Regions from separate parts of the Homo sapiens genome. Here regions 1, 2, 3, 5, 6 and 7 are each linked to region 4. Evidence: promoter capture Hi-C in 16 types of primary human blood cells and fetal thymus (Javierre and others, 2016). All regions are on one chromosome and are shown on one strand. The core of a region is centred on a gene start or on the middle of the fragment in contact, and the rest is flanking DNA. Distances in the headings are between cores, read along the strand shown.

Evidence for each region. Contacts are between HindIII fragments. The CHiCAGO score rates a contact against its expected background, and 5 or more counts as called.
Region 1: a contact is called between a fragment that was not itself captured here and the fragment with the promoter of MORC4 in region 4, in 4 of 17 cell types (non-activated CD4 T cells, naive B cells, total B cells and 1 more). The highest score is 7.0, in non-activated CD4 T cells.
Region 2: a contact is called between a fragment that was not itself captured here and the fragment with the promoter of MORC4 in region 4, in 1 of 17 cell types (total B cells). The highest score is 9.7, in total B cells.
Region 3: a contact is called between a fragment that was not itself captured here and the fragment with the promoter of MORC4 in region 4, in 4 of 17 cell types (total B cells, total CD4 T cells, naive B cells and 1 more). The highest score is 11.6, in total B cells.
Region 5: a fragment that was not itself captured here is called in contact with the fragment with the promoter of MORC4 in region 4 in 5 of 17 cell types (activated CD4 T cells, naive CD8 T cells, naive CD4 T cells and 2 more); the score reaches 7.1 in activated CD4 T cells.
Region 6: a fragment that was not itself captured here is called in contact with the fragment with the promoter of MORC4 in region 4 in 1 of 17 cell types (total B cells); the score reaches 6.6 in total B cells.
Region 7: a contact is called between the fragment with the promoter of TEX13B here and the fragment with the promoter of MORC4 in region 4, in 1 of 17 cell types (total CD4 T cells). The highest score is 5.1, in total CD4 T cells.

The regions. Positions count from the first base shown.
Region 1 is chrX:107,862,182-107,866,179 of GRCh38, forward strand. All of the region lies in intron 3 of MID2 (midline 2), which reads left to right. Among named protein-coding and RNA genes, the nearest start is that of MID2, 38 kb to the left of the region's middle. The HindIII fragment of the contact is 209 bases long and covers 1,263-1,471 here.
Region 2 is chrX:107,795,030-107,798,634 of GRCh38, forward strand. NCBP2L (nuclear cap binding protein subunit 2 like) reads left to right here. Exons shown (of 2, transcript NM_001348372.2): 2 at 1-800. Among named protein-coding and RNA genes, the nearest start is that of NCBP2L, 19 kb to the left of the region's middle. The HindIII fragment of the contact is 871 bases long and covers 973-1,843 here.
Region 3 is chrX:107,890,087-107,893,616 of GRCh38, forward strand. The region is part of intron 3 of MID2 (midline 2); the gene reads left to right. Among named protein-coding and RNA genes, the nearest start is that of MID2, 66 kb to the left of the region's middle. The HindIII fragment of the contact is 1,675 bases long and covers 688-2,362 here.
Region 4 is chrX:106,997,998-107,002,057 of GRCh38, forward strand. It overlaps MORC4 (MORC family CW-type zinc finger 4), which reads right to left and starts at 2,215. Exons shown (of 17, transcript NM_024657.5): 1 at 1,871-2,215; 2 at 1,680-1,752. The coding sequence starts at 1,972. RefSeq lists silencers at 1,980-2,189, 2,200-2,279. The HindIII fragment of the contact is 4,977 bases long and covers 169-4,060 here.
Region 5 is chrX:107,837,867-107,841,590 of GRCh38, forward strand. It overlaps MID2 (midline 2), which reads left to right. Exons shown (of 10, transcript NM_012216.4): 2 at 2,804-3,519. Among named protein-coding and RNA genes, the nearest start is that of MID2, 14 kb to the left of the region's middle. The HindIII fragment of the contact is 6,166 bases long and covers 1-3,724 here.
Region 6 is chrX:107,908,058-107,912,070 of GRCh38, forward strand. The region is part of intron 5 of MID2 (midline 2); the gene reads left to right. The region is part of intron 3 of LOC101928335 (a long non-coding RNA gene); the gene reads right to left. Among named protein-coding and RNA genes, the nearest start is that of TEX13B, 72 kb to the right of the region's middle. The HindIII fragment of the contact is 231 bases long and covers 1,570-1,800 here.
Region 7 is chrX:107,980,632-107,984,329 of GRCh38, forward strand. TEX13B (testis expressed 13B) reads right to left here and starts at 1,739. Exons shown (of 3, transcript NM_031273.2): 1 at 1,679-1,739; 2 at 1,038-1,528; 3 at 233-928. The coding sequence starts at 1,496. The coding sequence ends at 449. It also overlaps the pseudogene LOC112267910 and the pseudogene NLRP3P1. The HindIII fragment of the contact is 6,409 bases long and covers 1-3,698 here.

The DNA of each region.
Region 1 (3,998 bases), core at 117-2,616, 860 kb after region 4:
AAAGAGGAAGAGGAGGTGTAATAGCAGGAACAGTTGCTAGTAGCAGTAGTACTAGTAGTAGTAATTTTGGGCACTACACATTTTGCCAGAGATTCCTAGCCCTGACCTCAGGACTTCCAAAGCTTTTTATCACTATCTCTGAGAGTGGGGAGAACAATCATTCCCAAATACTCATAACCAATTTCAAATTTTACATATATCAACTAAAACTTTTCTTGGGAAGAGGGAGTGGTAATGAAATTGCAGCAGCAAAAATATTGGGTACCTTGGCCATGTGACTCCACCTAGCCCACCAGTAACTCTGCAGATGTGATAGACTAAAAAGGGTTATTGTGCTCAATAAGCTGCTAGTTTGCAGTTACTAATTTAAACAAATTTTATTTAGTAAGGAAACATTTACTGCCCTTCTGCAAGAATATCCAAAAGATTCTTCGTGTTGATACTTAAGTAAATTTGCCCATTATCCTGCCCAAATTCTTCTTGATTACTGCCTTTAAGCAAAGCCAAAAGAAAAGTTTTAGGGAGGGTCACATGCTTTCATCTCTAGTAATTTTAAAAAGAGAGAGTTCTATAATTTTGTATTTGCGATTTAAAATGTTTATTAGCAAAAATGTTCTGTGAATATTTTTGTTAGAGATGGAAGAGCAAGGGGAGCAGACTTAAGAGCTCCTGAGAAAGATTTGAACTGCTAGTGTCTTGTGAAAATGAAATACCTAGTTTGAAACCACTGTGGAATTATAGATGGAGAAAATTGTTTCCATGAAAAATGGAAAATAAGTTCAGTGATCCAGTCAATCTATTCATTTATACTACTGTAGTGACTAATTCAGAGTATTACATTCAATCTTATTAAGAATATAACGATTGACATTTAATATAGATGAAAAACCTAAGTTAACTGTGCAATCCAGTGTGTGGTCATAGCCTATTTTTATACTAGAAAAGAAAGTGCTTTATAATTTTTCAGAGACCTAATGCATTCAATCCTTTTTAAAAAATACTTTGTGACAATTCTTCATTTATGTCAGTAAAGTAACATTTTTGAAGACATTAAATGTTGCAGTTGAAATACTTGGAGGGTATTAACACATGACAGGGTTTAAGGATAAAATTAGTTAGGATTAATATTGTTTTCCTCGCCCTCCTCCCTCACATCTATAGGGCAGGTAAGCTTTCAGGTGTGGTCATGTCTTCATAGCCGAAACAGTTCACATAGGAATGCACTTTCATCCCACTTTTGCACTTTTCCTTTGGCACAGTGAAGCTTATCTTACAGTCCCGTTTCCCATCCCTCCTCTAGTTCTCATTTCTGTGTTCAAATTCCAGGTCACTCACTAAATGACCAGAAGACTTGCTTAATTTTGGCTCCTCTTGTTTGCTCCACTATTTTCACAATCCACCCAAATTCCCCATTTCCAGTGTGCTCTTGGAAAGTTAATGGAATCTTAATAATTCAGCTAAGGCTCTATCAAGCTTATCCTATACCTTGAAATGTTTCTAGTTCCACTTTTACCTCTAATCTCTCCTGCCATCAACCCAACTAAAACTAAACAAATGTTTTAAAAACCCAGACTTGAAACCAAAACAACTATCACCACAGCAGATAGGCACACAGCCATTGAGATGTCCTTACTGTCTCTGCCTGTCTAGAGGAGTCCAGCTCTGTGGTACGGTAAGCAAGGATTGGGAGGAAGAGAATCTTACTTGAATAATTTGTTCTGGGCACTGTGCTAGAGACATCATTTCTAATCTCACTTAGTGTTTATGACAATCCTGTGATACAGCTGGTTAATATTCCCATTTTTCAAGTGAGGAACTTGAAGGCCAGAGATATTAGATGCCTTACTCAAGGTCACACATAAGTAAGCTGGGATGCAGTTCTACATTTCTCTCACTCCAAAGTCTATGTTCTTTCCATTGCATTGTGCAGCCTAGTGGAGAAGTTGTTGGTTTACTTGCCACCGATTCATTTGTGCTCAGATAGGTAGGAGGCAGCTCCAGAAAACCCTTTGTTTTTCTCCACTAAATAGCTCTAGCTCTAGAAAAACATATGGTCTGTTTGGGGGCCTGGCGTTCCTGAATCTGTGGTAAGCCTCTTATGTACTCCTGCCATTGGCCTACCTTTAATAGCCCAGAGCAGCTCTCCATATTCTGACAGCCCTTCATGGGGTACAGAGGAGAGGGAGTTGCCTAGAGTTGGCAGAAGGAAGCAATAATACCCACAATTAGGCATTTACTTGCTCAGATTATTTTTGTGCCATGAGGGGTGGAAATAGTGTGGGCAGCTCCAGGTATCAACACTGTCCTCAGCCATAGAGTTTACGCTGGGACCCATATTTTCTTGCTGAGACTGCCGGGATGGGTCCTCATTCTAGGGCTGTACATGACCATGTTTCAGGGTAAAAGTAGTCTCCATGAGACACAGGGTTTCTTAACAGTTACTAAGAGTTTGACAGTAAAGATGTACTCTCAAAAGTATAATTAATGTTTGCACATTTAAAACAGGATATAAATAACAAATATAATACCACAATGACTGCAAATATATAGATTTCCTCAAAAAAGAGTGAATGCATTGCTATTATTAATGGTGTCTTTTGATGGAATGATTACTTAGAAGTACACATACAGCCAGGAAATCAGCTATTTACTACCTCAAGACAGAAAGAGAATCCAATGCCTCTGTCTATTCTCACTACCTCTCCTCTCACCTAAATCAAATCTTGAATCCAAGTTTACCCTATCTCAGCCAGTCCTAAGAACTCTTAATTATTCCTAAGAGCTTTAAATACATTAGCTCATTTAATCCACACAATAACCCAATGAAGTACATATGATTCTCATTCTCATTTTACAGATGGGGTAACTGAAGCACACAGGGGTAACTTATTTGTATAAAATCACAGGTGGCAAATTAAGAGTTTGCATCCAATTTTACTGAGGTCCTTGCTCTTAATGACTATGCTGTATTAAAAAAGATGGGCAAAACTAACAACCCATGGCTCCATGTGCAGTGTTTTGCAAGTCGCTGATTATTGTGCTTATGGTCTGGGTAAGGACAGAAAACCAGAAAACCAGTATTATGTGAGCGTGTGCCCATGTGGGAATGATGTGGTGTGATACTAGAGCAATATTTGGGCAAGCCTTTCTTTGTGATGATAATCTCTCCAGAGCATGCATCATAATGCCTCTGCACGTGCTATGCATCTGTCTATCTATTTCATAGATGGCTGTGCCTGGCTGTTCATCTCTTATGTGTGTCTGGGGAGGGGGTTGTATGTGTAAAGAGGATATATGTGGAAAAAAGGATATATGCCCAGTGAGAGAATTAGTGTTTAAACTGGGTCATGAGGATTGCTTTGACCTGTTTCCCTCCCCGCCCACCCCAAAGGGTTCTTTTCAGTCCTTTGATGTTTTCCCCATATAAGGGGAGAAACTGGGACACAACTGGAGGATGTTGCCTTTTGTTTTCTTTAATGAGAAACATTGACTCTTTCCTTGAGAGAAGGTTTTCCTCCTCTTCTCCATATCCCAAGCCTGTTCCAGCTTCTCCTTAGTAACATCAAAGGCACAAAACAATCACTGGCTTTGGAATAATTTCTAAACCAATAAAACTCTAGCTAAAAGTGTATAGCACCAGTGCTAGTCGCATAGAACAACATAGTTCCATCCTGAGCTCCCTCATCCCAATCTATATATGGGTAGTTTTGCACTGGCATAGAATGGCAGGTTTACGAATGTCCAAAGATGTCTTATTAGAAAAATCTCAGGTACAGGGGAAAGCCCAGGACACGAGGAGGATTAGAGAAGAGGGTGAGTGACCTAGGCAGGGAAGGATAACAATGCTATGTGAAAAGGAAGGAGAAACAATTACACGATGCCAGTTTACTCTATAGTGCACATATAATGAAACTCCTGCCAAATTTGTGGTGTGTTCTAGCATCTGAAGAGCTTTGAATCTTCTAGCACCCTGGGGATATTCTGGGATTCCAATTGCC
Region 2 (3,605 bases), core at 158-2,657, 800 kb after region 4:
TTTTTTTTAGAGCTTGCATAAAATACAGTCAAATAAGTGGAAATTTTAAAAAGTTATCAAGAGAAACACAAGCACTATTATTTGAAACCATAGAAAAGTCTGGAAGAATTTGTAATAAAAACAAAAATCCTCCTGCCCCACCTCTTCCTATCCTACGCCTATTCCCTGGACGATAACGCTTAATTATTTTTATTAGTTTTTGGTTTGTTTGTTTCTTGGTAGTTTCCTCCATATCTCCAAATAACATGACTACTTACTTTCTTTTTAAACGCTACGTACTGACTTCCTACTTTCAGAGATGAGGATTTAGCTCACTTACACCCCCATTTGCACTTCTCTACTCTCCATCCTCTCAATATAGTTCACAACACTTTACAGAGGGTTCCTGAGTTACAATGGCTTGGCTTACAATGTTTGGACTTTACAATGGTATAAAAGTGATGTGCATTCAGTAGAAACCATGCTTCAGGTACCCATACAACTATTTCGTTTTTGACTTTCAGTATAGTATTCAACAAATTGCATGAGATACTTAACACTTTATTATAAAATAGGCTTTGGGTTAGATGATTTTGCCCAAGTGTAGGCTAATGTAAAATGTTTAAGATAGGTTGTGCTATGCTATATTTGAGAGGTTAGATGTATTAAATGCATTTTCAACTTAATATATACAATAAGCTTATTAGGATGTAACCCCATCATAAGTCAATGAGCATCTGTACTTACTTTCTTTACTGTTACATAGCATAACTTAGGTTATACTGCAGTAATAAAAAATCGAAAAATTTTAGTGCTTAAAATTACTAAGTTCTGTTCCTCCCACTACATTCCCATTGCTGATTACATGGTGCCGGGGTCTGCTCCATGCCATGATTGTCCTCCTTCTGGGGCCTAGGCTAATAGTATACCCACTATCTGGAATGATGATGACAGAGGGAAAAACAGAGTGACAAATCATGTCCTGGCTCCTCAAGCTTCCACCCAGAAATGATATCCGTCACTTTTGCTCACATTTCCATTCTCAAAACATGTTGTCAAAACTGATTCTGAGGGAGTGGAGAAGGATCTGTAGGAAGAGATCCTGAATATTAGTGATGAGTTATACAGTTTACTACAGGTTCTCCTATAACTTTAATATATACAAATATAACCCCATTTTTGTTTTGCTCCACCATATAGTACTTCCCACTTTGTAAGATGAAGATGTTAATGTCCTTTTGCCTTTTCTTCATCTTTCTTCCTCCCCCTTCTACTTTCTAGCTTTTTTCATCTATATTTCTGTTTTTACATTGTCAAACTTGATAAAGTTGTCCGTGCTCTGTCTTTCAGTTAATTCCAAAAGTTTACAATTAGTAAAGAGTATTTTATTACTGTGACTATATAAATATTGTTCCCTGGTCAGGCGCAGTGGCTTATGCTTGTAATCCCAGAATTTTGGGAGACTGAGGTAGGCAGATCACTTGAGGTCAGGAGTTCAAGACTGGCCAGGGCAACATGGTGAAACCCTGTCTTTGCCAAAAATACAAAAATTGCTGGGCATGGTGGCATGTGCCCGTGGTCCCAGCTACTCAGGAGGCTGAGATGGTAGGATAGTGATCCCTCCTGAGCCCAGGAGGCGGAGGTCGCAGTGAACTGAGATTGTTCCACTGCACTCCAGCCTGGGTGGCAGAGTGAGACCCTATTTCAAAAATAAGTAAATAAATAAATAAATAAAGTTCCTTGCAAAGCCAGGGAGAGTCCAACATCTATATCTTTTCTGCTGGAATTTTTATTTACCATTCTCTCTTTCTTATATTTGCCTTTATTGCACCCCTTAATTTCCTTCAAACTCTGTAAAAAATTAAGCTTTCCATGGATATTCTCCTACTTTTTTCTTTTTTGAAGTCTCACTCTGTCGCCCAGGCTGGAGTTCAGTGGCACAATCTTGGCTCACTGCAAACTCTGTCTCCTGGGTTCAAGCGATTCTCCTGCCTCAGCCTCCCGAGTAGCTGGGACTACAGGTGTGTGCCACCACACGCAGCTCATTTTTGTATTTTTTTTAGTAGAGACGGGGTTTCACCATATTGGCCAGGCTGGTCTCAAACTCCTGACCTCCTGATCCACCCGCCTTGGCCTCCCAAAGTGCTGGGATTACAGGCGTCAGCCACTGCACCCGACAATTCTACTTTCCTCTCCATGGTCTGTCTGTCCTCCTATTCCAGTTTGGATTTGTTACTCTCTAGACCAGGATTTCTCAATCTCAGCCCTACTGATGTTTTGGACCAGAGAATTATTTGTTGTGGAAGGCTGTGTAGTGCATTGTAGAATTCAGTATCCTTGGCCTCATATACCCATTAAATACAGTAGCACGCATTTGTGCGCGCACACACACTTCAACTTGTGACAACCAAAAATGTCTCCAGACATTACCAGTTGTTTCTGGCAGGCCAGTGGGGAGGCAAAATCACAACTGGCTGCAAACCACTCCCTAGACAACAGTTTCCATCCAGAGATTTTTCTTCACTATAGTCCTGAATTGGACTGACTATTTCATGGATCCTGTGTTTATCCCTTTTGTGATTTACTTCTATATTAGTCCATTTTCACACTGCTGTAAAGAACTACCTGAGACTGGGTAATTTATGAAGCAAAAAGGTTTAATTGACTCACAGTTCTATAGGCTTAACAGGAGGCATGACTGAGAGTCCTCACGAAACTTACAATCATGGCAGAAGGTGAAGGGGAAGTAAGCACATCTTACCATGGTGGGCAGGAGAGAGAGTGAGAGAGCAAAGGGGGAAGTGCCACACACTTTTAAACCATCAGATCTCAGGATAACTCACTATCACAAGAACAGCATGGGGGAAATCCACCCCCATGATCCAGTCACCTCCAACCAGTCCTCTCCTCCAATTAGACATGAGATTTGGACAGGACACAAATCCAAACCATGTCATTCCACTCCTGGCTCCTCCCAAATCTCATGTCCTTCTCACATTGCAAAATACAATCATCCTTTCTGAATAGTCCCCCAGTCTTAACTCACTTCAGTATTAACTCAAAAGTCCACAGTCCAAAATCTCATCTGAGACAAGATAAGTCCCTTCTACCTATGAGCCTGTAAAAAAAAAAAAAAAAAAAAAAAAAGTTAATTACCTCCAAGATACAATGTGGGTACAGGCATCGGATAAATGCTCCCATTCAAAATGGAAGAAATTGGCCAAAACAAAGGGCCTACCGGCCCCATGCAAGCCTGAAACCCAGTAAGACAGTCATTAAATCTTAAAGCCTTGTATCACTTATTTGTAGTTTCTTCCCTTCTGTTTCCTCTGCTGTTTCTGTAACCCCTATTAGCTGGATACTGGGCATTTTGGATTTATTCCCTAATTTTCATGGCCCTGATTAGTGTAAATCAGTTATGATAATCCTCTCCTTCTTGCTAGTGATTGGTTTAGGAACCTAGGCTTAAGCCAATCAGAAGTGGGCAATCCTAAAATTATATTAATAAGCTGAGGGATGGACAGCGACCAATTGAGACCCCAGTGAGATCGAATGAAAGATTTTTAGTTTTAGCTTAAAGGAGAGGCTGTATCTCTCCTTCCTATTGGATATGAATAAGCATGCAT
Region 3 (3,530 bases), core at 275-2,774, 890 kb after region 4:
TTTGATCATCTGAAGCTTTCTTCTCTCAACTCATCAAATTCTTTCTCCATCCAGCTTTGTTCTGTTGCTGGTGAGGAGCTGCGTTCCTTTGGAGGAGGAAAGGCGCTCTGATTTTTAGAGTTTCCAGTTTTTCTGCTCTGTTTTTTCCCTATCTTTGTGGTTTTATCTTCCTTTTGTCTTTGATGATGGTGACGTACAGATGGGGTTTTGGTGTGGATGTCCTTTCTGTTTATTAGTTTTCCTTCTTACAGTCAGGACCCTTAGCTGCAGGCCTGTTGGAGTTTGTGGGAGGTCCACTCCAGACCCTGTTTGCCTGGGTATCAGCAGCAGAGGCTGCAGAACAGTGGATATTGGTGAACAGCAGATGTTGCTGCCTGATCTTTCCTCTGGAAGTTTTGTCTCAGAGGAGTACCCGGCCTTGTGAGGTATCAGTCTGCCCCTACTGGGGGGTGCCTCCCAGTTAGGCTACTCGGGGGTTAGGGATCCACTTGAAGAGGCAGTCTGTCTGTTCTCAGATCTCCAGCTGTGTGCTGGGAGAACCACTCCTCTCTTCAAAGCTGTCAGACAGGGACATTTAAGTCTGCAGAGTTTTCTGCTGCCTTTTGTTTGGCTATGCCCTGCCCCCAGAGATGGAGTCTACAGAGGCAGGCAGGCCTCCTTGAGCTGCGGTGGGCTCCACCCAGTTCAAGCTTCCCAGCTGCTTTGTTTACCTACTCAAGCCTCGGCAATGGTGGGTGCCCCTCCCCCAGCCTTGCTGCCACCTTGCAGTTTGATCTCAGAGTGCTGTGCTAGCAATTAGCGAGGCTCTGTGGGATTAGGTCCCTCTGAGCCAGGCGCAGGATATAATCTGGTGTGCCGTTTGCTAAGACCATTGGAAAAGCACAGTGTTAGGGTGGGAGTGACCCAGTTTTCCAGGTGCTGTCTCTCACCCGTTTCTTTGACTAGGAAAGGGAATTCCCTGACCCCTTGAGCTTCCTGGGTGAGGCGATGCCTCACCCTGCTTCGGCTCACGCTCGGTGCGCTGCACCCACTGTCCTGCACCCTCTTTCTGAGACTCCCCAGTGAGATGAACCCAGTACCTCAGTTGGAAATGCAGAAATCACCCGTCTTCTGCGTCACACACGCTGGGAGCTGTAGACTGGAGCTGTTCCTATTCGGCCATCTTGGCTCCATCCTCCTGTTTGTTTTATACCTTTTTTTTTTTTTTTTTTTGAGAAAGAGTCTCACCTTGTCACCCAGGCTGGAATGCAGTGGCGCAATCTCAGCTCATTGCAACCTCCGCCTCTCAGGTTCAAGTGATTCTCCTGCCTCAGACTCCCGAGTAGCTGAGATTACAGGCATGCGCCACCATGCCTGGCTATTTTTTGTATTTTTAATAAAGATAGGGTTTCACCATGTTGGTCAGGCTGAGCCTAAAACAGACCTCAAGTGATCTGCCCGCCTTAGCCTCCCAAAGTGCTGGGATTACAGGTGTGAACCACTGCGCCCAGCCCATCCTAATCAGGGCCTCTGACCCCCTTGGGGTTTTCCCCGTAGAAACCCCTTTGTTTATTTCTTGACTCACAAGGTAGTTGAGACCTCTGGAAATATGTTCTCAAGACCTCTTTGTTGCCCAGTCACAGAGTTCAGCGTTGGTTATTATTCTGAGGCTTCCCTTCCCTCTGATGCTTACAAACAGAATTCCTCTGGTCCTTGTCTTTCAGGCTCTTTCCTGGTACTTCCTATTTCTCTACTCCCTCAGCTTAGAAGCAACATAGGCTCTTCTTCAGCTATTTTCACTCTTCTACTTGGGCCCTTGCTTCTTCTGTTGGGCTGGAATCAGACTGTTTTCTGTCTGCCTGGAATCAGATTTTTTCCCTTTTGTCATCCAGAGTTCCCTGTCTCAGAAAGAATGACCTCTTTCTCATAACAATGCCCTTTTCGACCTTAGCTATGAGAGTTCAAATTTCCCTGGCCCTCCCAGTAGAAATTCCTTGCTCTGTATATATACAGGGAGTATCACGATGGTGAATCCATCCCTCAGAAACAAATGTCTTGGGAGGAGTGCTTATGTCAGACTTGAGTACAGAGAGTGGCTAAATGCTCCCCACAATCTGATCTGAGACTTAAGAAGGCGGAAACATTCACTGGCTTGCTTTGTTCTCCTCCCTTTCCATAATTCCTTGGTTGTGAAGGCAGTGAAAAGGATGGCCTTGGAAAAAGCCCTAGACTAGAAATCAGGAAACCTGGGTTCTGCTGCTGGCTCTGTCACCCACTAGTCACATGAACTTGGGTGGAACAGCCTGTGCAAACCTCTATTAGACTGCTTGCTCTTCCATGAAGGAATTTCTTGGTTACAGGCTGTTTCCTTGGTTGGACTAGAAGCTTCCTGAAGGTAGCAGCCATGGCCATGCCACAATCATTTTGGAAACTGCAGTTTCTAACTGGTCTCTCTGGCCCATCCTGTTCCCCTCCTATCCATTTTCCACATTGCTGTGGAAATGAACTTGTAAAATGCAAAACCTGTCATGTCACTCCCTACCACAAACCCTTTAATGGTTCCCCCACTGCCTTTAAAACCCATTATGATCTGGCCCCTACCTACCTCTCTAGCATGGTCTCCCAGACCTTTTTGCTGTCTTCGTCTTCTCTGCTGTGAATCTCCCCTTCCTCTAGCTAACTCTCATTCATTCCTTAAAAATATCACATCCTTAGGAAGCCTTCCTTGACCATCTAAGCTCCCCACTTGACAACTGTTGGTTAAATCCCCATCTTATAAGCACCCAAAGATTATCCTTTTTACGTGATAAACCTCTTTTGTAGCACTCCTCAAACAGGTAACTGCTCAGTATCTGCTTCCCTGCTCATTATAAGATTCACGAGATGATGGCAGAGGCCTTATCTATCTCGTGTATTGCTAAGTGCTTACTAAAATGCCTAGCACATAATAACAGTAAAATTTGTTCAATGGTAATATGAAATGACCTGTAATGTATCCACATAAATGAGTGTTGACTGCTTCAAGAATTGGGTGTATCCTCCATGGTAAGAGTGATGTCTGTCTATAATCTTTCATGTTCTTACGGCTTTCTGAAAAACAGTGCTATTATTGAAATATCTCCCATAAACATTATAAAACAGTAAAACAGTTAATGTCCTTTTGATCCTATAATGTAGTATTACACAGATCTTCTCACTTCGTGTAAAAAACACAGTCTTTGTCAGTGCTTCTTTTTACTGCTAGACTATGAAACTATGAATTTTGCTTATTAGCTGAAATATTACTAGAATGTTTTTATTTTGTTAATATCTCAGGTTAACAGTCTGCTATTTGATTCTTTAACCTGTCTTGAAAAGGCATGTATATGTCTCATTATTACTTAAAGAAATCGGGTAGCTGATTTGAGAATATACCATTATGTTAACTTTTTAGTTGATTCTATTTTTAACATGAAAATAAACAAGTCAATTTAAAACTTTTAAAAAGGAACGATTAAGTAGATATATTTTATCTTGTTTTTGGAGGAATGTCAATATTGTGAAGCACTTTT
Region 4 (4,060 bases), core at 965-3,464:
TGTTTTATCTCCCCTACTAGAAGAGTGAATCTGTGTTGTATTCATTTTTGTGCCTACCACAGTGGCCTTGCGCACAGTGGGTGCTCAATAAATATTTACCAAATGAATGATTCACTAGAAAATTAATGCTTAAGTGGAGAAAATGATTGAAGGAAAACCTAAAATGAAAGCTTTGGATTGCCAGTTAACACTTTGCTCTCTCTTTTCCCTATTATTAATATTTTCACAAATAGTTGTTATTTGGTCTTAAAATCTATGTTTGTATACATGTATGCATGCATGTGTGTGCATAATACATACACATACTCGCGCTCATACTGGACGTCTTAGATCCGGCTTAGGTTCTTTAAGGTAATGCTTATGGCCAAAATCACAAATATCCAAAATTACAAATTGGAAACTCATTAAATCACCTGGAAAGTACAGTAAGCACAGCACAGGTATATCACGTTCTGCACCGTGCCAACCATGAGAGAACAATACATTTCGCTTTCCCATCCCCCACTATGTAAATCACTACTTTTTGCTCCCTTGTAGTCTTTCTTGTAAATTACATACTTAACTTGGATTGTATTCCATTCTGCAGAGGTTCAGTGCACAGCCCCAAGGCACAGTACCAAACCTCAAAGATACAGTCCCTCTGCTCTAGGGTTCCAAACGTATCAATTCCACTTTTTGCCTTTCACCTTCTAATTAAATTACACATATTGTAAAGCATTCCGTGTTATGGTTAATCATCAAAGGTCTCTATCATTCTTATCACCCTTCCAAGTAAGTCCCCTGCTACCCATTGACTTCTTACCCAAGATAACTCTCATGGCATGGCCACAGCGACTGCTTAAGTAGAGACCGGGGTTCATTTGGGGAGCTTTGAAAACATTTTCAAGAGTTTGTTCTGTGCAACCTTGCCCATAAACACTTCTTCCTTCTTTCGATTTTCAAAGCATGTATAATGCGCCCTGTATGCTGCTGCGTTTTGTGCAGGACTGCGTTTCTTCTTTGCTTTCCACACAGTAGCACACTACTGCAAAAACTGGTGTAATTGGCTTGAAGGGATCAACTGAAAACACTTTAAAAGCAAACACCGGTGGAGCGAGAGGTTAAGTCCTCAATATTCATTCCAGCGGTGTGAGGGCGCTCGTGGACCACGGACCCAGCCCTCCGCAGTAGCAGGGAGCCAAATGCACTCGTGTCATCTCTTAAGAGATGTCCCATCATTCCTAACTTTTCTTGTCTCAAAAGTTAAGGAACTCCGCTTTCCAGACCTTTCCCCAGGACCCGCCTCGGTCCTCTACGCCCCTTTGCTAGCTAGGCATCCTCCGTCGGTCGCCAGCCCCTGCGGACCCAGCTGCCTCAGGGCCCGAGGTTTTTATGCATCTCCTTTTGATTACTAACTAAGCTATCCTAAAGTGCCCGAACGTCACGAGCGCGAGAGAAAAACCACACTGGTGTCTTTAACGCTTCAGACACACCTCGTTTCCTCCGTTTTATGAGCGGAACCTAGTTCCTGGCGAGAGAGCCATCCCCCTCCTCCGCCTGCGGAGCCGGGGCCGGTTCCGAGGCCCCCACCCCAGCCCCGGCCCGCCCCGCGCGGCTCTGCGCATTCCTCTCGCGTCCGCGGCACCACGCTGGCACCACTGCCTCGGGCGAACACGGCCGGGCCCGCCCTCGCCACTCACCTAGCAGCTCCGCGATGGCACTGAAGGGTCGCGTGTGGCTGCTGGAGTTGCTCTGGAGGTAGCGGGGGCTCATCTGGGGGCGAGAGAAGGTCCCGACCCGCGTGAGGCCTCGGCCCGCCGGGCCCTCCCCGCGCGCCCCCCGCAGCCCAGGGGCCCGCGCGCGCGTCCGCCCCCTCGGGCCCCGGACCTACCGTGCTCAGGCGGATCCCGAAGGCCTGCGGGCCGCCGCCGGGCCGGGCCAGCCCGCAGCCCGGCGCGCCAGGGCCGGCGGGGGCCCCTCGGTACAGGAGCATTTTTTTGGCCGCCACGGTACCCGTCTGCTGCCGCCGGACCCCTGGCCCGGCGGTCCGGGACTAGCCCTCGCTCACTTCCACTCGCAGCTGGCGGCGACCGTCCGGGACCGGCCCTCCCTCGCTCCCACTCGCAGCTGGCGGAGGCGGAGCGCGCTCCAGCCACCTGTCCCGGGCGGGAGGGGTGAGGCCGGCTGAGGCAAGCGGCGGCTCCGCCCTGTCAGCACCTCTACCGACCCGGCGACTGCCCGGGCTGCCTCTGGGCCGTACAGAAATATGGCGACCTCCTGACAGCCGCTCCTTGATCCCCGCCCCTAATTAATTATTGGCGTATGCCATAGGCCAGGCCGCCGAGCGGGAAAGCGCGGGGGGCGGGGGTGGCGCGTGGGGAGGGGCGTGAATGAAGCAAGAGGAGGGAGAGCATGTATGGGATTTCTGGAACCTAGTCCCGCTTAGGCTGCATGACTAACAGGCAAGATAAGACAAGTCTTTCAAGTTCTAAAGACTACAGTGTTGCTATCTGGGAAGATAGCAAGCTCGCCTGATGGGAAAACATTCTACCTACTCTGCCTCAAATGCCTCCAGAAGCACCCAGAACTTTCTGGAAGGCAATTAGCAAACTATCTCCAAAGTCTTGCTAGCATGCAGGGACGGTGTTTCTAAAAGGAGAAATTGGATTCACTTAAATACCGCCAAGTAGGGGATTGGTCGAGTTATGAAGTATGCATAAAATGAAATACCATCCAGTTCTTGAAGGCCATGTTTGTAGATAAGTATGTGTTGATGTAGAAAAATATTCATGAAGGAATGAAGAAAACAAGGAGTTACAACATATTGTGGAACGCATGATGCCTTTTCTATTGGAAAAACAAATATATATGTATACATATATACATATATATATATGCATGCATACACACATATACACATACATACATACATATATATATACACACACACACACACAACGAAAACCACTTGATATACACCAAGATGATATCTCTGGGTCTGGAACTAGACACTTTTTCCTTTTTTCTTACCTGTGTTTTCTAATATACTATAAATATACACTGATAATAGAAAAACAGATTCATTAAAAACATATGTAATGTTCTATGGCATGAATGAACTATAATTTATTTGACCATTCCTTTATGGTAATTTAGGTTGTCCTCTTTTTTTAATTTTGACAATACAAAAAATGCTCCTTCACACACTCGTGTACAGGTCATTAATTTCTGATACTGTTATCTCCACAGAATGAATTCCAAAAGATGAGACTGCTGCATCTAATAGCATGTGCATGGTTTAATCTTAATAAATACTGTAAGATAGGCAATTTGCCCTCCCAGCAACAATCAGTGCTCTTTTGTCATGTTCATAGCACTAGATGGTCCCAATCTTTTAACTTTTTGATAGTCTTTTCAATAAAAAATAGTATCTCCTTATTGTTTTAATTTGCATTTTCCTGACTACCAGTAAGGCTGAATATCTTTTCAAATGTTTAGTATACATTTGCATCTCCTCTTCTACAAATGCCTGTTTATGTCCTTTGAGCATCATTTTTTACCCCCATTGGGTGCTTTACATTTGTCTGTTTTTTAGTTATCTTTTCTTCAATTTTTTAAAATACACAAAAGTACAGAAAACAATATAATGAATCCCATGTACTTATTACTCAGATGCAGTAATTATCAAGACTGCCACACCTGCTGCAATGGACTGAACATTTGTGCCCCGCCAAAATTTGTATGTTGAAATCCTAACTCCCAATATGATGGTATTAGGTATTGGGATTAGGAGTTGGGGCCTTTGCCAAGTAATTAGGTCATAAGGGTGGAACCCTCATGATGGGATTAGTGCCTCATAAAAAGGACCCCAGAAAGCTCTCTCATCCTCTTTCTTCCATGAGGACTCAAGAAAGGGTCTGAATTCTGCAACCCAGAAGAGAGACCGTACCAGAACCTGATCATCTGCTGTTAATACGCAACCTAGTCTATGGTACTTTGTTAACAGCAGCCAGATCTGACTAAGGCACTTGTTTTCTATATCCCTTTTCTTCTTTTTCTTTTTCTTTTCTTTTTTTTTTTT
Region 5 (3,724 bases), core at 1,102-3,601, 840 kb after region 4:
ACAGGAGATGCTCAATGAATGCTAGACCCCTTCTTACTCCTAGTTTAAGTGATACTTCATTAACAATTATTGAATACAGTTTGTGTGAAGCACAAACTTGTGCTGTGAATGAAAATATAAAATAGTTGATACTCTCAAGGAGAAGGAAGAGTTAGCTGGAAATACAGCTATGTAAGTGAAATAAAACAGAATGTTCTGGAAGCCACCAGTGGTTGAGGTGATAAAAACATGTAGATGAGAGATCTCTTAGATTTCTAGGCTTGGATGGTGATATTCACCAGACAGGGAAAATCAGAAGAGGAGCAGGTGTTTTTTGTTTGTTTTGTTTTGTGGAGGTGAGGAGGAGCACAACAAGTTCATTTATAGACATGTTGAGTTTGAGAATCTGAGTAATATATCAAATGGAGCTCTCTAAGGCAATATTCCTGCTGTCAGTGGAAGTTGGAATCTTCATCTCTCAAAAGTCTCTTCCAATTCTAAGATTCAATGATGTATGTACATTTTAATTGTTTACTTTTTCATCTGTATGGGTGAACGTTGATAGATGTTATAAGCTACAAAATACTGGCCAACAACTTTCAAGCACCTGTAAATTCTAAAAGAAAAATACCTTGTCTCACTTAAAAAAACTGGCTGTACAAACATCTGAATCTACTAAACCAACTGAGTGACTGATTTACAAAAAGATTCTTCACTTTTATAACCTCATTTCATATAGATTTTCATTAAATAGGTAGTTAGTTCAGTGCATTTAAAAGGTTTGATTTAGAAACAGCTTTTAGGTGTACATCTATTGTACTTAGGCATAAAGTATAATTGTACTCAGTACTTATGTATCCTGTGACAATATCTGAACAAATACCAATGGCAGAGCAAAATTTTCAAGCTCTGATGAGAGTCTCCAATGATGACAAGATAATAAACAAAAGCTACTCAAAAGCAAACAATGCTTTTCTTGGGCTTGGCTCTGTGGCTCACTCCTGTAATCCCAGCACTTTGGGAGGCTGTGGTGGGCAGATTGCTTGAGCCCAGGAGTTCAAGATCAGCCTGGGCAACATGGCAAAACCACGTCTCTACAAAAAATATAAACAAAAATTAGCTGGGCTTGGTGGCATACCCCTGGAGTTCCAGGAGGCGGAGCCCAGGAGGCTGAAGCAGGAGGATCGCTTGAGCCCAGGAGGTGGACGTTGCAGTTAGCCAAGATTGTACCACTGCACTCCACCCTGAATGACAGAGGGACACCTTGTTAAAAAAAAAAGCAAGAAAGATGCCCTTTTTCTTTCCTATACATAGGATTAACATTTTCAGTCAGTAAGATATGTTTTATATTTTTCCTTAGTTAAAGACAACTTAGAATATTTATGTGTGTGTATTTTAATTAATGGAAGACTCTAGGCAATTAAGAATTAGGTACCTGTGTGTTCAGCACAGAAATGCCTGTGGAAAAATAGATAGAGTTACCAAGAGGTTGGTTTCTTGTCAGTTGGGTGGCTTTTTTTGTTTGTTTTGTTTGTTTTTTTTTTTTTTGGCAGTCTCACTCTGTCACCCAGGCAAGAGTGCAGTGGCATGATCTCGGCTTACTGCAACCTCCACCTCCCAGGTTCAAGCGATACTTCTGGTTCAGCCTCCCGAGTAGCTGGGACCACAGGCAAGCGCCACCACGCCCAGCTAATTTTTGCATTTTTAGTAGAGACAGGGTTTCACCATATTGGCCAGGAAGGTCTGGACCTCCTAACCTCGTGATCCACCCACCTTGGCCTCCCAAAGTGCTGGGATTACAGGCGTGAGCCACTGTGCCCGGCCGGGTGACCTCTTTTACTCACTGATGCTCACTAAATTGAAGGTTACCAGATCTTAAAATTTCTGGAACTTTGCTAATTTCTATCTAGATATTGATTTGCATCCTGTTATGTTTTAGAAAGTATGAAAAGACACATGGGAGGTGAGCTTCATAGCTGGCTTGTGCTAGTTCAGCAGGTGTTTAGTAATGAAACCAAACTGAAGCCACAAGGCAATATGACTTTATTATTGATCAGCAACTATTGCTGAGTAGGTTGAAAAGTTTGAAATCATTCCCCATTCAGCTTGATGAACTGAAGGGGTTTCTGAAGGTGAGGGAAGAAGATGAAAGTGAAAACTATCATCTTTTATCTCAAGTAACTCAGTTTACTAGGAATAGAATGGAACGGAAATTTCCATGTGTGATAATAAGAAGTAATTCAAGTTCACACTCTGAGGAAAAACTTATTATCCTGCACCAAGGGCTACATTTTTCTAAAGCTCTCTCTTTTTTATGCAGGCTTTCAGAATGGAATCATTTCAGGAAGTAGAGAGTTACTTTAAAATATGGCATTGTTTTCCTTACACTGGATGTCACATAGAAGCAGCCCTACAGTTTACCTTGAAGTGAAATAGAGAACAATATTGGAGAATAGAGATTGGGAATTTTGCAGGGTCTCAGCCTTATCTTAGTCTAGGAAAAGAGATGTCAGTGGAGAATATGTGAGAGAATGATCCATGCAAATATTGTGAGCTGGAATGGTAATGTTAATCAGTCTATCAGGATTCAGAGGTGGCCATTTGGTTTTATCTATTTGTGCATGAAAATAAACATAGGCATTTGTCTAAAACAAGGTTTGAAGGGGAAGAAAGTCTTCCTGATTAGTTCCCAAATTGCTTTTCTATTGCTTAAGCATCTCTGGGGAATCCAGCACGTAAACGCGCCCATTGGTTAGTGTATAATTGTGTTATATCCATTTTCCTTTGGAAATGCCTAATGACTCTTGCTTTGTATTCCTTGCAGGTGAAAGCCCAGCCTCCGTGGTTCTTAATGCCTCAGGAGGACTATTTTCACTAAAGATGGAAACACTGGAGTCTGAATTGACCTGTCCAATCTGCCTAGAGTTGTTTGAAGACCCCCTTCTGCTCCCTTGTGCTCACAGCCTCTGCTTCAGCTGTGCCCATCGCATTTTGGTATCAAGCTGCAGCTCTGGTGAATCCATTGAACCCATTACTGCTTTCCAGTGTCCTACCTGCAGGTATGTTATCTCGCTGAACCACCGGGGCCTGGATGGCCTCAAGAGGAATGTGACTCTGCAGAACATTATTGATCGCTTCCAGAAGGCTTCAGTCAGTGGGCCCAATTCCCCTAGTGAGAGCCGCCGGGAAAGGACTTACAGGCCCACCACTGCCATGTCTAGCGAGCGAATTGCTTGCCAATTCTGTGAGCAGGACCCGCCAAGGGATGCAGTAAAAACATGCATCACCTGTGAGGTCTCCTACTGTGACCGTTGCCTGCGGGCCACGCACCCCAACAAGAAACCTTTCACCAGCCACCGCCTGGTGGAACCAGTGCCAGACACACATCTTCGAGGGATCACCTGCCTGGACCATGAGAATGAGAAAGTGAACATGTACTGTGTATCTGATGACCAATTGATCTGTGCCTTATGCAAACTGGTGGGTCGTCACCGAGACCATCAGGTCGCATCCCTGAATGATCGATTTGAGAAACTCAAGGTAAGGGATCTGGGGAGCATCCCCTATACAACTTTGTCGCATAAATGCAGTTAGCAAGTTCTCTAATAAAATAGGTGACTTTTCCTATATGACAAGTGAGTTAACTTTAAGTTGTTCTCATGAGGAATAACCTGCTCTCCTGCAAGCTCTTCCTGGAGCCTATCTCATCTGTTGCATAAACATTCTTGCAGTCACACACTTCTGG
Region 6 (4,013 bases), core at 435-2,934, 910 kb after region 4:
GCACAGGCAAGATTCAAATTTAGGGAGTCTAGTGCCACAGTCTACACTTTTACAACAAAGCCAAGCAATTTCAGCTCTATCAGATGTTTTTATTGGCATGACCTTACATTTCTAAATAACATCCTTACATTGGTAGTTTTAATTTTTTTCAACTTTAGACAGTATCAATTAACTTCTGCAAATTTGGACTTTTTTTCTGCCACTACTTCTACAAATATTTTTATGCCACTTCCTTCCTCTCTATTCGGGATTCCAATTACATGTATATTTGGCTGTCTGAAATTGTCCTATAGCTTACCAATGCTCTATTTTTGTTTTGCAGTCTTTTTATTTTTTTGCCATTGTGAAAACACATGCAAGTGTGTTTCATTTTGGATAGCTTCTATTGATATATCTTCAAGTTCACTAGCCTTTTCTTCTGTGATACCTAATCTGCTGTTAACCCCTCCAGTGTATTTTTTATCTTAGATATTATAACTTTCATCTCTAGTTTGATTTGGGTCTTTTAAAAAATGTCTTCCATATCTCAAGATATTCAGGCTGGGTGTGGTGGCTCACACCTTTAATCACAGCACTCTGGGAGGCTGAGGTGGGAAGATCACTTGAGACCAGCCTGGGCAACATAGCGAGATTCCATCTAAAAAAAAAAAAAAAAAAGCCTGCATCTGGTGACATGTGCCTGTAGTCCTAGCTACTTGGGAGGCTGAAGCAAGAGGATCTTCTGAGCCCAGGAGTTCAAGGGTACAGTGGGTCACGATGCTGCCACTGCACTCCAGCCTGGGCAACAGGACAATGTCTTGTCTCTGAAAACAAAAAAAGATATTTAGCCTTTCCTCTAGCTTTCTGAACATATGGAATACAGTTAAAATAATTGCTTTTATGTCCTTGCTTGCTAATTCTAATACCTGTGTCATATCTGGGTCCGTTTCAATTGGTTGCCTTTTCTTCTCATTATGGATTGTATTTTCTTGATTTTTTGCCTATCAGGTAATTTTTTACTGGATATCAGACTTGTTAATTTTCTCTTTCGGGATGCTGTATATTTTTGTATTCCTATAAATATTCTTAAACTTTGTTCTGAGACACAGTTAAGTTACTTGAAAACAGCTTGATCCTTTCAAGTCTTGGTTTTCAGATTTGATAGGTGAGATCAGAGCAATGTTTAGTCTAGAGACAATTTTTCTCCACTACTGAGGCAAAACCCTTCTGAGTACTCTATTCCAGTGTCCTGTGAGTCATGAGATTTTCCAGTTTAGCTGGTAGGAACACACACTATTGCTAGACCTATGTGAGTACCAGGGATTGTTCCCTCTTATCTTTTTGGGTGGCTCTTTCCCCAGCATTATGCAGTTTCCTCGCATGCATTTGTTGATCAGTATTCTGTTGACTACTAGAGGGAAACTCTGAAGGTCTCTAGAATTCTCTCTGCAGCTTTTTCCTCTCTGGTACTATGTCCTGTGAACTCCAGCCAACTTCGTCCACTTGGATTCTCAGCTCTGTCTCCTTAATTTTAGGGAACTCATTGGGCTCTGCCTGGATTTCCCCTTCCTGTACCACTTGATTCCCTTAAGCTTTTCAAACAAACGCTCCTGTAGTTTCTTAAGAAAGAGTACATGGGAAGTAAATTTTCAAGAACTTTTTGCCTAAAAATATTTCAAGTTAATTTTCACACTTGATAGGTTGGAAATAAATTTTGAAGGCATGACTTCATTGTCTCCTGGCTTCCATTATTGTGTTGAGACGTTCACTGCCGTTTTGAATCCAGATCTTTTGAATATAACCTATGTTTTAAAATCCAGAAGCTTAAACAAAAGTTAATATTACTTTTAATTGACAAATCATAGTTGTATACATTAATGGGTTGCAATGTGATGTTTTCATATATGCATACAATGTGGAATGACTAATCAAAGCCAATTAACATATCCATTACCTCACCATTTTTTGTGGTCAGCCATTGAGATTTACTCTTTTAGCTATTTTGAAACATACAATATGTTATTATTGATTATATTCACACTGCTGCACAACAGATCTCAGAAACTTATTCCTCCTGTCTAACTGAAACTTTATACCCTTTGTCCAACAACTCCCCATTCCCTCCTCATACCAGCCTCTAGTAACCACCATTCTACTCTCTATTTCTATGAGTTTGATTTTTTCAGATTCCACCTATGTGCGAGATCATATGGTATTTGTCTTTCTGTGCCTGGCTTATTTTACTTAGCATACATCCTCCAGGTTCATTTATGCTGTCAAGGATAACAGGATTTCCTCCAACTTCAGTGGCTGAAAGGTATTACATTATGTATCTATACCACATTTTCTTTATCCATTCATCCATTGATAGAAACTTAGGTAGATACCATATCTTGGCTATTCTGAATAATGCTTCAGTGAACATGGGAATGCAGATATTTCTTTGACATATTGATTTCAACTTCTTTGGATATATACTGACTAGTGGGATTGCTGGATCCTACAGTAGTTCTATTTTTAGTTTTTTGAGGAACCTCCATACTGTTTTTTATAATGGCTGTACTAATTTATATTCCCACCAACAATGTATAAGGGTTCCCTTTTCTCTACATCCTCACCAGCACTTATCCTTCCTCCTTTTAATAATAGCCATTACGATCTAGAAGTTTTAAAGATCTTATCTTTAACCCAGTTTTTCTGAAATTTCATCAAGATTTGCCTCTGTTATAGATTTTCCTTTCCTTTCCTTTCCTTTCCTTTCCTTTCCTTTCCTTTCCTTTCCTTTCCTTTCCTTTCCTTTCCCTCTCTCTTTCTCCCTCTCTCTCTCTTTCCTTCTTTCTTTCTTCTTGTTCTGTTGCCCAGGCTGGAGTGCAGTGGCACGATCTCAGCTCACTGCAATCTCTGCCTCCCAGATTCAAGTGATTCTTCTGCCTCAGCCTCCCTGGTAGCTGGGACTACAGGCTCACGCCATTACGCCCGGCTAATTTTGGTATTTTTAGTAGAGATGTGGTTTCACCATGTTGGCCAGGGTGGTCTCGAACTCCTGATCTCCAGTGATCTGCCCACCTTGGCCTCCCAAAGTGCTGAGATTACAGGTGTGAGCCACCGTGTCTGGCGCGTTGTGGACTTTTTGTCATTCATTTTTCCTGGGCACTCAGTGAATCTTTCTAATCTAAAGACTGGTGACCTCTAGCTCTGGGAAATGTTCTTGTATTATTTGCTAATAATTTCCTCCCCTTTATTCTTTCTCTTCTTTGTTTATGGGACTTTGATTAGTGAACTGTTGGACATCCTAGACTTTTTTTCTCTAATTTTATCTTTTCCATTTTCCATGACTTTGTCTTCTTATTTTACTAAGATACTTCCTTAATTTTTCATTAAATCCTTCTATTGAAATTTTAATTTCAGCATTCCTAATTTTATTCACAAGAGCTCATCCTTCACCTTGTTTCTTTTTTAGCATTCTGTTTTTGCTTTGTGGATACGAACTATTTGGTTTTCTTCTTGAGAATATTGTCATTTTTAAAAGTTTGCTTCTAAACCCTGCATTGTCTGGGTTTCCTCCCAGTTCCTTTTCTCTGTTAGTTTAAATTGCTGTCTTTTCCTAAATATCTGGCAAACTACTGGCTGTGTGTTTGAGTTTAAGCACTAAAAGATGACTGGAAACTCTGAGTGGATGGGAATAATTTATGGGTTGGTGAACTTTGCTATAGGATTATAAGGCGGAATGCTGGCTTTTTATTGATGGACTCCCAAGTGTCAGTTCTGTAGGTCTTTTCTCTTGGGTCAGTTTCCCTTGGATGAAATCCTCCAATCTCCTGCTTTTGATTGGAGGGGCAGCGGTGTGGAAGGTATAAGCCTGGCTGCCAGCATTCTGGGAGCCAAGGAGGGAAAAGGAGCTGAGAGTTTTAAGACTGCTTTTAGTATAATGTCAAAGATCAGCAGAAAGTAAAACTCACATATCCTGCCAGAATGAGGGAAGGGTAGTCTCTGGTTTAGTGTGCATGGATCTGTGGATCTAGTTGTTCCTCATG
Region 7 (3,698 bases), core at 489-2,988, 980 kb after region 4:
AGTGTTGACTACTAATACTCTGAAATACAAATGGAGTCATTAAAACATGTCTCTCCCTGCCTGTCATCTACATCCTCCCACCCACAACCCCGCCTCCCCGCCCCCCTACTGTCCAATCTTCCCACTCATCCCCTTTCCCCCACTCCACCCAATCCCCCTCCCACCTCTCCCCTCTCCCCCTGAAGATTGATTTCCCATTGAGATATATTTCTGTTCTATTTTACATTTCTGAATTTACTGAGGCTTTTGCAGCCAGATTCGCCTCCCACAGAGGAAGCAATTTTCCCTCCATGAAAAATTCACAGCTTTACACCACGGGCAGTCCCAGTTCCCTGGCCTGCGATATACTGGAGGTCTTCTCTGCTGATGGAGTTCGGAGTCTCTCCTGTCTCTTGGGGGCTCTTGAGGGTCTATTCCCTGGGCCTCCACATCTGACCACAGGCTAGCATCAGAGGCCCCCCAGTTGAAAGGCATCTGAGTTGGAACCCGTTCTGTGACCTTTGCTGGTGAAGGGGGTATATTGGGTATGGCTGAGAAGGCGGACAAAGGGCATGGGTATGAGTATGTGAATGAGGTAGGGAGCTGGACAGGAAGAGGCTCCAGTGAGACTGTGGACCCAAGCCCAGAGAAGACAGACATGGCTGTTTGTACTGACCTGAGATCTTTCTCCCTCTGCCCCGCAAAGGTGTAATTTGCCTGCTACAATAGCTCCGAGGGGCTGCCTGAAGCCTCCTCCCAGCCCCTGCAAGACCTCTGCGGGGGCAGGCCCTGCCTCTGCATACCTCTCCTCTCCTTTTCCTCCAGCAGCACCAGCAGCAGCCACCGCCTCCTTTTCCTGCTCACCTGCTCCTTCTGTCCAATCCCCTCCGGCAGTGGCCAGGCCTGGAAACACTGTAGCCTGGCCCTGTCCCTGGGGAGGTGCCAGCTCCTGGAGAGAAGTAGGCAGAGCTGAAACACATTCTGGGGACAGGGCAGGGGGTCCGGACAGGTTGGGGCAGGGCAGAGGCATTGGACAGGGACCATTCGGGGGATCTTACGGCATGGAAGAGCTTCCATCTCAGCATGTCCCGCTCTCTCTGCACCTCCGCAAGGCTGGTCTCGGTTAGCTGCAACTGGAAGGTCGCCTCATTGCATTCCATCTCCTGCTGTTCCTTGAGTTCCGTCAGGTTTGAGGCCAAGACCAGCGCAGCTGATCTGTGCAGTTTGGCAAAGCCTTGCAGCCACTGCACCCTGCGGTTTTGTAACTGCCCCTGCCTGTGGGCAAAGCGCACACCCAAGGCCAGGCTGCCCCAGGTGCAGGCCTCTTTGACCTCGCTGGGCACCTCGCTGTCCTCCAGGATGGCCCTGAGCTTGTCTTCCACCTCCTCCCAGGATAAGGATATATTCTCGAAGTAGAACTCGGGGCCTTTCGTGTGCCTGGCCATTTTCTCGATGATGAAGGCCACCACGTTTCCGTGCCGGAACCCACTACTGGGGTCCTCAGGTCTCAAGGCCATGATCGCCTAGGGGCTTAACGGTTTCACTAGCCCTGTGTGGATGGAGCAGCCAATAGGTTTCTTTCCTCCTCCTTAGCCCCTCCCCTCATCTGTCTTCTCCGCCCTCCCACCTCTGACAAGACCCTCCTAATGACCCTCTGACCGGCTTGTCCTACCCTAGGACATCTCCCACCAGGCCTCACCTCTTCAGCCAGGGCCAGAGGAAGTACAGGCCAACCCCGCTGCTTAACACGCCTGAAGAGAGGGTGGCCTCTTTCCCTCCTAGGGCTCTGCGGGAAAAGAAGCCTCAGGGCCAACCCATGAGGATTTTACTCTGGGACTGTTCCAATTTCCAGAGACTGTAGGGGTGAAAGGGAGTGAGTGAGGAAGGCCTCTGCCATTCCACTGGGACAAAAGGGAACCTGCCACATGGTCGGGAGACCTTGAAGGCTGAAAGAAACAGGAGTGGTCCGGAAGGACTTAGGACCAAAAAAAGTATTTGTGAACAAGTTGAAGACTTATCCCTCCCCATCATAATGGTTTGTGCCATGCCAGGGGAGTTTCGCCCCCAACTGGAATATTCTAGAGCAGGAAACAGCCCCAACCCCTCAGTTGCCCTTGGAGGAAGAGGGTGGAGCCAGGAGCGGAGCTTATCCCCTGTTTGCTCAGGACTAAACATCCCAGACACCCTAACAAATCCTGGCCTGCCTTTCCTCCCTTAGCTCCTCTTTCCCCACACTCCTCCCATCACCCCTTCTCCCACTCCTCCCCTACTGAAACGCCTTGAATCTTGAAGCAACTGTGGGAGAAAGAGAGTTAGGAGTAGCATAAATACACCTTTTTACCAAAACATGAAATATCAGAGATCTTCCATCAGAGGGATATGAATATGTCTCTTAAAACCTTCGGCCGGGCGCGGTGGCTCATGCCTGTAATCCCAGTACTTTGGGAGACCGAGATGGGCGGATCACGAGGTCAGAAGATCGAGACCATCCTGGCTAACAGGGTGAAACCCCGTCTCTACTAAAATTACAAAAAATTAGCCAGATGTGGTGGCACGCGCATGTAGTCCCAGCTACTCGGGAGGCTGAGGCAGGAGAATCGCTTGAACCCACGAGGCGGAGGTTGCAGTGAGCCGAGATCGCACCACTGCACTGTAGCCTGGGTGACAGAGTGAGACTCTGTCTCAAACAAACAAACACAAAAACAAGAAAACCTTGAATGACTTTCTGAGACCCACAAGATAAATCAGACAAATCTCAGGTTGAGTCCAGCGTTGCTACGTATTACATGACATTGTACTGTAACTGAATCTGTTTCTACCTATGGATCTATGATGATGGCCAATGACAAAAGGGCATGTAAAGTTGTAGGAGTAATGTTTTCTATGATCCCGTATTTGTGTGTATGTGTGTGTTTGCATATGTTTGTATGTTTCTATAATCTTGGAGAACAGAATGAGAGAGGATATATAGCAGACTCAACATTAATTATCTCTGGGAAGTGGGGTTGGACTGGAGGTTAGAAAAAAAGTTTTTAACTTTAAAATACATTTTTCTCTAATTTCGCTTGTTACAAAGAGCATATAACTAACTATATGTATGCATACATCACAAATCTGGAAAGTTATATACTAACACTTTAACAGTGGTTATCTTTGGGTAATAGGAATACAGTACTTTAAAAAATATTCTTGACATTTTTCTCTATTGTAAAATTGTTTATAATAAACGTGTTATGTTTTTCAAAATTGAAAAAAAATGTTTCTCCCAGTAACAGCTGATCATTGTAAATAATTTTTAAGTGCTTGGAAAGTACTTCTATAATCCTACCCTTCCTTCAACCTGGGTGATAATCCCTCTTAATAGTTATATAGTCTTTTAGATAGGCCATAGCAAGTAATTTTTAGTTTTTCAAACGAAGCATCTTCTCTCTTCCTCTGTGGCCCTTGCACAGGCTCCTCTGTGCATGCACGGATTTCTCCTCATCCCCTCCTGCTCTCTCCACTCCCATTCTTTTCATTCACCTAACTCCTATACAGTTTCTATTCCCTTTTCATGACAGTGCTCAAACATTTCTTCCTCTTGTATTTCCTGATTCTCCAGACCCCACCTCAAGCTAGGCTGAATTGTGCAACCTTTTTGTGTCCCCATAACAACTTGTGCATATGTCTGACGGTACTTTTCACACTGTATTGTAATCTGTGATTTTCTCGTCATTTTT